Linked DNA regions of Homo sapiens: region 2 is linked to region 1. The links are contacts of gene promoters, found by promoter capture Hi-C in blood cells and fetal thymus (Javierre and others, 2016). All regions are on one chromosome and are shown on one strand. Each heading gives the region's core, a stretch centred on a gene start or on the middle of the fragment in contact. The rest is flanking DNA. Distances are from core to core; before and after follow the strand shown. Region 1 holds the start of LEF1-AS1 (LEF1 antisense RNA 1). Region 2 has its middle 190 kb from the start of RPL34-DT.

Region 1 (4,798 bases), core at 1,656-4,155:
TTTACAAGTTAGATTCTGCTCTGCTCATTTACTGCCGGCCTTTTCACTGTAATAAGGAACAAGAAACAGCAATTTTGCAAGTGAAAATCCACTCAAAACTATTCTGGTTGGAAAATAAATCGATATATACTGTCGTTCTTCTTAATAATATATTAAAAATACTAAAGATCTAAGCTAATTAGGATTTAAGGTAAGATGAGGAAGAGAAAAACTCATTGTAGACATTCCCTCTTCCCAAAGAATCTGGAACCCACCTGAAATCCAAGGGTCCCTAACTCATTCAAAAACAGTTTTTAAATTATGTAATATATATTAGAGGTAAGCCATAAGTTTCCTGCGTTTTCTTTACCATTAAAATAGTGGGCATAGTCTGACCTAGTCCCAGTTTCTTGAACTCAAAAGTAACAAAACACACCTATTTATACAAATTGCACCCCTTATCTGCTAAAGTCAGAAGAAGTAGAATGGGTGTCTTACCGTCATCGGGGTGTTCTCTGGCCTTGTCGTGGTAGGGCTCCTGAGAGGTTTGTGCTTGTCTGGCCACCTAACATCATGAATCCCCACACCCAAAAGAAAGAAAATCACCTTAGAGTTTGTGACAATAATGGTACAAATGTGTGTGCGCTGGTAATTCAAAGGAAGAGGTTTAGGGGCAACTCTGTTTTATACTCTGAGAGACATACGCTAGTGTTTAGTACTGCATAATCCTTTTCTTGTCAACATGTATTTTTGAGTGATTATTATCCACCCGGGACCAAAAACGTATAAATAATAACAAAACCAATAAAAATATAGTTAAATTTGGGAATGATCCACATGCTGTTCTGACTGCTGTTTATTAAACCATATCAAGGCTCCTTGGATGCCTAATATTACAGGAGTAGGAGTTAATGGGGTTGATGGTTTCGATAGCCTCTTCAACCACTGTTCACTTCAATCAGATCTGATTAAAAGAAGGCTGAAATATCATTTTGCAACTGAAAATGGCATTTAAACATAAACAAGCCAACCACTCAGATGCGGTCTTAAGGCAACTGCCCTGAGCGCAGTTACAGCAGAAGCTCCACTCGAGCTTATAACCTACTATGGCTGGCTGAGTGCAGGCTTACAAAAGTAGAACGATTCTGTGGTTAAAGGGAGGAAAATTAGAGAGTCAGGTTATAGACATCTAAAAGGTAGCCCAGTTGATATCAGTTTTGGTAATCACCATCCACCCAGACAGCCTCAAACACGTGCAAATCAGTGGTATTACTCCTTCACCCTCAGGCCTCCTCATGCCCACTTAACACCCGAGTGCTCTCGGATTCGAACGCAGTGTCCTTCACCCGGACCAGAAAATTGTGGAGAATATGAAGTGGGTGGCAAAATTATTTATGGACTAAGGCAGGACTAGCAAAATGGGTAGAAAGAGAGGCTGCTCTACAAATAGGAGAGTTTGGCAAAAAGCCTGTGTTTTGGATGTTATTCGGTTCTCTGGACGTGTGTCCTCCCTTTGACCTCCTTTTCCCAGCACACAGTAGTCACAAATCTTTTACGCGGGGTTAGGTGCACCCTACCCCCGCCCCCAGCCCGCTCAAACTGGATTCAACGGGTAAAGAACACCATTCTGTTCTCTGAACGCAGGCCCCCAGCCTTTCAAAATTCGTACTCACCTCTGCCATTGGGATAGAGAAGGCAGATCTGAGGTGTTCTTAAACGCGCTGTTTAAAACCCAAAATGTCCCCGCCCTCAAAACCACACACTTTCTTTTTGGGGGTAGAAAGATGCCATTTAAGGAAAAAAAGGTATATCCTCCAAGTTTCTTTGGAGGGAAAAGGCGTTGGTTAAATCATTCGGGTGTCAGGACTTTTCTACCGGATTTCCTCCAGAGGGTTTCCCAGTTGTGGAACAAGGGTGACCAGTGGAGTGTCGGGTATCAGGGTCCATCCGCCCCCTAGACCAGCTCTGGACTAGGCTTCAAACAGCCCTCCAGCGCGGCCCTGCTCCGCGCTTTCTCTAGCCAGCACCCACGTGTCTCTATTTACTCTACTCAGGTTACCAGCTCTATCGCCCGCAGCGGGCCAGAAGACCCGATAAAGCGCCTTCCACCCTGCAGGACTAGTGCCCGGCTTCCGCTGCTTCTCCGCCTTTCTTCTGCGTAGATTTAAGGCCTGATCCGGTCCCAAACCCCAAATAAAAGTTGTGGGTTTGTTTCCAAGTGATGGCGGTTGGAGAAAACTAGAGTTGGGGGCGGTACAGCCAGGGTGTACCCTTGCGGTGGGTCGGCTCGGCGCACCCACAGCTCCCAGCTGCTAGCCCAGGCGCTGGGGCCGCAGGGACTGAACCCCGCACCGCCCCCGCAGCCCGGGTGCGCGCCCCATCGGCCGGCCTGCTCCCCGCGGCCCGGCTCACCGGTGGTAGGGACGGCCCCGCCTGCCCCAGCCCACGCCCGCCTCCCCTTCCTCCCGCCTGTGGCTCTGCTCGTCTCCACCTAAGCCTTTGGTGGTTTAACGCACTTTTGCAGAGACATCTACCAAGAGATAGCGTGTGCACTTTGTTTTCCGTCCCACGGAAGAATTTATCAGTAGCGTTATTCAGCCCTACTCGCTTTAAAGCACGGCACCCCTCAGCCCAACAAAAAGACCGAAGGCGAAACATTGTGGGTTCCTGCCCGCGAACCAACCGTTCAGCCACCGAACCCCCTAAACTGATCCATTTGGAATAAGTTACCCTGCCCCTCTACCTCCCATCCTACACACACACACACACACACACACACACACACACACACACACACTGCGGACCGGGGGCCCAGCTACGCACACACCCCAAAACAAACGAGGGATCTACTCGGGACCCTCAGCCGGGCGGCCGGGCGCCTTCGTTCCCTTCCTCCCTCTCTGAGTTTCCCAGGGACCCGCCACGCCTCTCGGAACTGGGGCAGCGGCCCGCTCACCTCGTGTCCGTTGCTGGCCGGGATGATTTCAGACTCGTTCACCAAGGAAGACTTGATGTCAGCTAAATCGCCTTCCTCTTCGGGATGACTGATCTCGGCGAAGATCTTTTCCTTCTGAGGATCGCCCTCGTCCTTGAAGGGGATCATCTCGTCCGTGGCGCAGAGTTCCGGGTCCCCCCCGCCGCCGCCACCTCCTCCGGAGAGTTGGGGCATCCCGGCGGCTCTGTAATCTCCGCTCCGCTGTGGGAGCACCCGCGCAACAGCAGGAAAGACAGAGGGGTAACTCAAGGGTGGGGGAGGAAAGGAGAGTTGGAAGGGTTCGTGCAGCAGGACAGCGGGCGGAAGCGGGGCGGGCGAGCGCGGGGCCGCCGGCCGGCAGCCGGAGCAGCTGCCGCGGCGCCCGAATCCCGGCGGCCGCCGCGCTTTCCCGCTTCGCGGAGACCGACGCAGGCGCCCGCCCCCGAGGCCGAAGGGCACTGGGCGGCGAGGGCTGCGGTAGCTGGCGACTCCGGGGGCGTCTGCGCGGCGCGCGCTAGACGAGGCTGCCCCGGCGGCCACCCCGCGACCCCGCGTCGCCGGGATTTGCGCGCGGAGAACGCCGGTTCTGGAGGGAGCACGCCTCCCCAAAGTGCAGAGGAGGGTCCGGCGGCGCGTCTCCGCGGAAACCCTCTCCACTGTAGTTACCCCGGATGCCGACTTAGTAGTTTGTTTTCCGAGAAAAGAGAGGGGATCTGGGCAGAAGGGCCCCGTTTGCCCCAAAAGAAGGTGCAAGGATCAGAAGATAACGAAACGTCCACTTCCTGAAGGGTGGGAAAAAAAGAAAAAGAAAAAGGAGCCACCCACGCTGGAGATGTCCGTTTTAGATCTTCTTATTTTCTTCCCTTTCGCTTCGGTTTTTCTTCTCGAGGCTCATTTAATCTGCTAGAGAAGGAGGAGGAGCAGAAGATGGGGGCCGAGGAGGAGGGGAAGAGAAAGAGAAGTTTGCCAAGAATAAAGTTTTTGCCGGCAAGCGCGGGGACTCCGCAGTGGAGGGCACTGCGGAGTCTCGGGGAGTCACAGCGGGGGCCTCGGGCCCAAATGCCTCTGCCCGGAGCTCGAGCCGACACACACACTCAGTCCGACCCCTCTTTGTTCCCGGCTCGAGTTTCTCAGCCTGGCTCGCCGGCTCGCCGCTCTGCACGCCTCCGCCGGCCAGCTCTGTCAAAGCAAAGAGCTGCGCCCCTTGAGTTCGCCCGGCCGAGGGGAGGGGACGCCCCGAGCTTGGCCGCGTGCGAGGCTCCGGGCGCGTCCTGGTTCCTCGGCCCGAGAGCGCGCAGCCCGGGTCCCTCCTCCGCGCCCTGCCCCGCAGGTGAGCGGCTGCGCCTCCCCACTGCTTCTCCTCCTCCCGCGCCTCGCCGGCGCTGAAAAGCTACCCACTTGCGTCGCTTCTCCTCCCTCTCCCCTCCCCCGCCTCTAGCTCTCCTTGGCTGCCCGCTGGAGGGGAGGCGGGGGGTGAGGGGGAGTCGGCGAGAAGGAGGTGGTGATTGAGGGCTTTTTTTTCTTTTTCTTTTCCCAGATCCTGTAGGACGAGTCTTGGTTTTGGGGTGTGTGAGTGTGGTGTGTGCGCGCGCGCCTGGAGGGAAGGATCAGGCAACTTGGCGAGAGAAGGAAGGACCGGGCGCTGCTTATAACCCACCGAAAGGCACGCTTTGCCCGCGTGAAACTGACAAGAAACATTGCCGCAGTGGCTTGACTTCATCATCTAAGTATCTATTTACTTGGCCCCCACCCACCCACTCCTTTTCCTCTGCCAGTCTCTCCCCTACCTCCTTGACGCCTCCCACTCTCCCTCCCTGGCTCTGGCAGAGGGAGGAAGATGAAAGA
Region 2 (4,798 bases), core at 1,470-3,969, 260 kb after region 1:
CCATTTGAATATGAATAGCTTTAGGTAATGCTGCTTCTTTCTTTTGATTATAGCAAGCTTAGTGCACACAATACTTTTTCAACTCCTGGCCCACGGAGATATTTATTTGGAATCATTGATTTAGGTAAAGTAGCAGAAGTGAAAAACTGTGTACAGAGGTTAAGAAGTCTAAGATTAAATGAAGAAAAACCACTCTTTGTGAATTCCGAGAGGGAAGAAAAGTTCTTTTCCATGTGGGTTAATTTCTTTTTCTAGCCAGGACCATTGCATTGCATAAATACTGCAGGCTCTGTGCATGTCACCATATCTGTAAATGGAGCCCTGGAATTATTCAGTGCACAGACTCGCAGCCAAATGCAGCAGCTCTGACTCTCCATCAGTGTCATATTGTAAAAGTCTTGTAATTTATAATGCTGTTTAATGTTCTGTTTTCATAAAGTGTGGTTTTGAGTCACATCTCAATTCAAAACCACTTTCAGGCATCATCACTTCAATATCTATTGAACATACGTACCAGACTCTGTTCTCTCATTGATTCCTTACACTGGCCTTAACCAAAAGTTCTAATGGTATTTCTCATTTGTAAAATGAGAAAGTTGAGACTTAGAGAAGTCAAATAATTTGCCCAAGGTTATGCTATGGAGCAAGGATTTGAATCTACATAGTAAGGAACCTTTTGTGAGGGGGAGTATATTTATGAAGACATTGGAGCTAATTACTTTGTTTCATTTAGAAAAAACAATCTATTTTAATCTATAATACTCATTGATTTTTTACACCAATTAATTACTACATATAATTTTGAATATTATCACTAATGTTTGATATCTTTATTCACTTACCTAGGTGAAAGTAACTATATGTAATCTCTCATTTTTACGGTATGCCAAATTTTACTTTTCAAATTACATTATTTTCTTAGTATTTTGCAATGTAGACAATGTTTCAGTATTTGTCATGCATACACAATGTTTCAATATTTGTCATGAGAACGTTTTTGTGTAATGGTTTATAGACAGAAGTCAGTGTTTAAAATTTCATATTATCCTAGTTGTCTGTTTTGTCACAAGAGTAGATGTAGATTTTTTTTCTTTTTGAGAAGGTGTCTCGCTCTGTCGCCCAGGCTGGAGTGCAGTGGCACAATCTCAGCTTACTGCAACCTCCAAATCCCGGGTTCAAGCAATTCTCCTGCCTCAGCCTCCCAAGTAGCTGGGACTACAGGCGCCTGCCACCACACCCGGCTAATTTTTTGTATTTTTAGTAGAGACGGGGTTTCACCATGTTAGCCAGGATGGTCTCAATCTCCTGACCTCGTGATCCACCCGCCTCAGCCTCCCAAAGTGCTGGGATTACAGGCGTGAGCCACCATGCCCGGCCAGATGTAGATATTTTAAGCTGTCAAGAGTCTGGCAAAATTTTGGCTACTTGGATACTAATTATATTAAAATCTATTAGCTAATCTTCCTATTTAATCTCCTCCTGCAATGGGCAGCATAATCAAACGGATTTCCAAAGAGGACATATTGAAGCACAGAGGGTTTTAGGGTCTCTCTCAGGGAAGTCAAGTGCTTAGGGAAAACTGGAGAATTATAGCATTTGAAAGGCGAAAAAGGAGTTGCATCCAAGAAAACAGTGTCAAAGCTGTTGAATTTAGTCCCTAAAGCAGCAAGCATGCAAAGGTTTTCTCAGATTAATACTATGGATTTTGCTGATGGCTGCTTTTAAATCATCTTTTGAATGTGCAACTGAAAATACAGCTTTCTTTCTCAAGTTTTCAAAAATAAAGACCTTTCCTCTTCTCAGTAAACACATCTTCCATGAGTAAGCTGGACATATTTCACAATCTTTAATAATTCTCAGATCTGCATCTCCAGTGAGACCTCTCTCCTGAAACTCAGAGCTGTGTCCAACTATTTACAGTATACTTTCATTTGAGTGCCTTAATGGAACCTCAAATTTTTCCAGCGCTAAGCTGGCTGTCACCATCTCTCCCACCACACATGGCAATAGCAACCACAATAATGACAACCACAACAAATCAATTTTACCTCATGTATTTTCCATTTAAGGCCTGGAAAAACCAACCACTCAAATTAGCTCCTTCCTTCAATCTACACATAGAGTTGATTACTAACTCGTAAAGATTCTATTTCCTTAATTTCCTTAATCTTTCTCTCATCTATCTCTGTCTCTTGCTCCCAGGGCCATCTTGTATGCTTGTCCTCCTCCCTGCAATGATTATGAGAGCCTTGACAACAGACATTGTCTAACTTACAGCTAAAACCTTTTTTTTTTTAATTTTTTTTTTGTGTGTGTGGAGACAGGGTCTTGCTCTGCCATTCTGGATGGAGTGCAGTGGCACAATCATGGATCACTGCAGCCTTGAACTCCTGGGCTCAAGTGATCCTTCTGCCTCTGCCTTCTGAGTAGCTGAGACTACAGGCATGCACAATCCTGCCCAGCTAATTTTAAAAAAAATTGTAGAGATGGGGTCTTGTGATGTTGGCCAGGCTGGTCTTGAACTCCTGGCCTCAGGTGATTCTCCCCCATCAGCCTCCCAAAGTGCTAGGATTACAGGTGAGAGCCACTGCACCCAGCTATAACTGAAACATTTAGTCGGCCCTTAATGCACATCATTTTTTTCTTAACCCCGTCATCGAAAGGTTTAAAAGACTTTTGGAACTTTTAGATTTATCAGAAAGAATTTTCCCTAAACTTTGTGACTACATGAAAGTTATCTTTCAAGTATGTACATACATTTATTTTTGAACCACTTTAGTCATCTGTGCTTCTTGGAAAGGCAATTTGTATTTGGTCTGTCTCCAGGCATGGGCCTTGGGTGTGGTGTTTTTCTAATGGTTTTCCTCAACCATTTCAGGGATAGAACTAAGCCCTAATTGTTGTAAGATATCCATTGTACACAACGAATTACCTTCTCTTCTATGCATATTCCAGGATAGTACTAGCTCTGTGCCATCTTGGGAGAACTGAGAAAATAGTCACTTAAATCATTGTCTGTTTTGTGGTTCACATGAGAAACTCCAATTGAGAAAAGCTGCAAGGTCTCAAAAAAGGTCCTTAGGAAATATTTCTCATAGATTACCAGAGATTGTGATTTTCTTACCAATGGGCTAATGGCCCAGTCTCACTTTTTCCTTGCTAGTTTATCCATTCATTGCCTCCTGTCCCAGAAATCAAAACACACACACATGCGCACACACACGCACGCACACACACCCCAAAACAATCCCACTAGCCATGGATATGATGTTAGCAAAACACCTTGCTTTTATCTTTCAAGTCCTCTTTAAGCATTCTCTTTACCAATATTTAGACTCAGAGTTGGAAATTTAAAAAAAACATCTGAAATCTCTACTTGATTTGGAAAATCTTTTTCCTTGGAACTAGGCTGGCATGAAAGGAACAGGTGTCATGGAAAGCTGTGTTTTCTTTTGCTTCTCTTTGGGGAGCAATAGTTAAGAGCTGTGATGGCAGACATGAAAGTAAGCCCAGCTCTTTACAGTTGGCCTCCTTTGAAAGGCCTTTCCTTGACCCCTATTCCCCAGGAAAAAAAAAAAGTTGCTAACAGGAACATCACAAGATTCCATTGATGAAATGTGTTGAACCAAACCATGTATGATGACAACTAGTGGGTGGAAAACATTTCCCCAAATCAGAACTGGGTATCTACCCTCCACGTTACTTCACTGGATGCCAAAAGGTTATCTGTGAGGAACTAGGAAAGGAAGTATATTTGAAAACATCACTGGAACTTGTATACAACATCTTAAGGTGTTTGATCCTTTTATGAACTGTTGACAGCTTTTCGCCATTGAAGTCTATATGAGATTTGCCAGCCAAGTGAAAGGAGGAAGCAGGGCCAGAGTGCTTGACCAAGGAACCCCTAAGAGCTGGTTAGATCACAAGACATGAGATGACCAGGGAGAGGAAATGGCCCAGAATTCCATGAAATGCTCAGGCATCTGTATCAGCAGTTTCATCAGACCTATTTCGGCCATCCAAATGATTCTCTTTGAGTTTCACTTCCAGTATCATCTTCATTCAAGGATCCAGGCAAATGTGAATTCCCAGAGCACTCAGAGAAGCATGAAGTAGCTGAGGATTATTAATAATCATTACAGTGCACTAAATCAGTAACGGCACTGAATCAGGCCATCGTGCAACACACCCTTTTGTGTTTATTAATGGTCATGACAGTTGCTTAATTGGGATAGTAGTTCTGTTTAATTGGGACATATTTAGTGCTACTCAGGCCAGGTATCTTCCTCTTGCTCCTGCCAGGTCTGTTTGTTCTTCACAAGTTTCTCAGTATTTCTGTGGAATGTGCCTGATGCCAGCTGGTCTCCTAAGCCTTCCCACGCTGGGAAGTCTTCTGGGCTGTGGCTTCTGCCTGGGACGTTATCGTCGGTGTTAGATTAACAAGCCATGACTTAGAAGTCCTTTGCTTAAAAATGAGTATGTCAGGCTGAGTGTGGTGGCTCATGCCTATAATTCCAGTGTTATGGGATTCCAAGGCAAGGGAATTGCTTGAGGCCAGGAGTTCGAGACTAGTTTGGGCAACATAGTAAGACGCCATCTCTGTAAAAAAATAAAAAAAAAAATTAGCCAGGCATGGTGACATGTGCCTGTAGTCTTACCTGCTCGGGAGGCTGAGGTGGGAGGATCACTTGAACCTAGGAGGTCAAGACTACAGTGAGCTAGAATCATGCGACTGCACTCCAGCCTGGATGACAGAGTGAGACCCTGTCTCAAAAATAAATAAATAAATAAAATGAGT

What was found. The method cuts DNA at HindIII sites, captures the fragments that hold promoters and counts their contacts. A CHiCAGO score of 5 or more calls a contact.
Region 2: a contact is called between a fragment that was not itself captured here and the fragment with the promoter of LEF1-AS1 in region 1, in 6 of 17 cell types (activated CD4 T cells, naive CD4 T cells, non-activated CD4 T cells and 3 more). The highest score is 13.9, in activated CD4 T cells.

The regions. Positions count from the first base shown.
Region 1 is chr4:108,164,620-108,169,417 of GRCh38, forward strand. LEF1-AS1 (LEF1 antisense RNA 1) reads left to right here and starts at 2,906. Exons shown (of 3, transcript NR_029374.1): 1 at 2,906-3,214. It overlaps LEF1 (lymphoid enhancer binding factor 1), which reads right to left and starts at 4,313. Exons shown (of 12, transcript NM_016269.5): 1 at 2,936-4,313; 2 at 478-544. The coding sequence starts at 3,148. It overlaps LOC124900752, which reads left to right and starts at 3,320. Exons shown (of 2, transcript XM_047416528.1): 1 at 3,320-4,283; 2 at 4,491-4,798. The coding sequence starts at 3,881. RefSeq lists silencers at 2,267-2,506, 4,263-4,312 and enhancers at 2,384-2,885, 3,913-4,002. The HindIII fragment of the contact is 8,163 bases long and covers 1-4,798 here.
Region 2 is chr4:108,426,296-108,431,093 of GRCh38, forward strand. No RefSeq gene overlaps it. Among named protein-coding and RNA genes, the nearest start is that of RPL34-DT, 190 kb to the right of the region's middle. The HindIII fragment of the contact is 5,329 bases long and covers 56-4,798 here.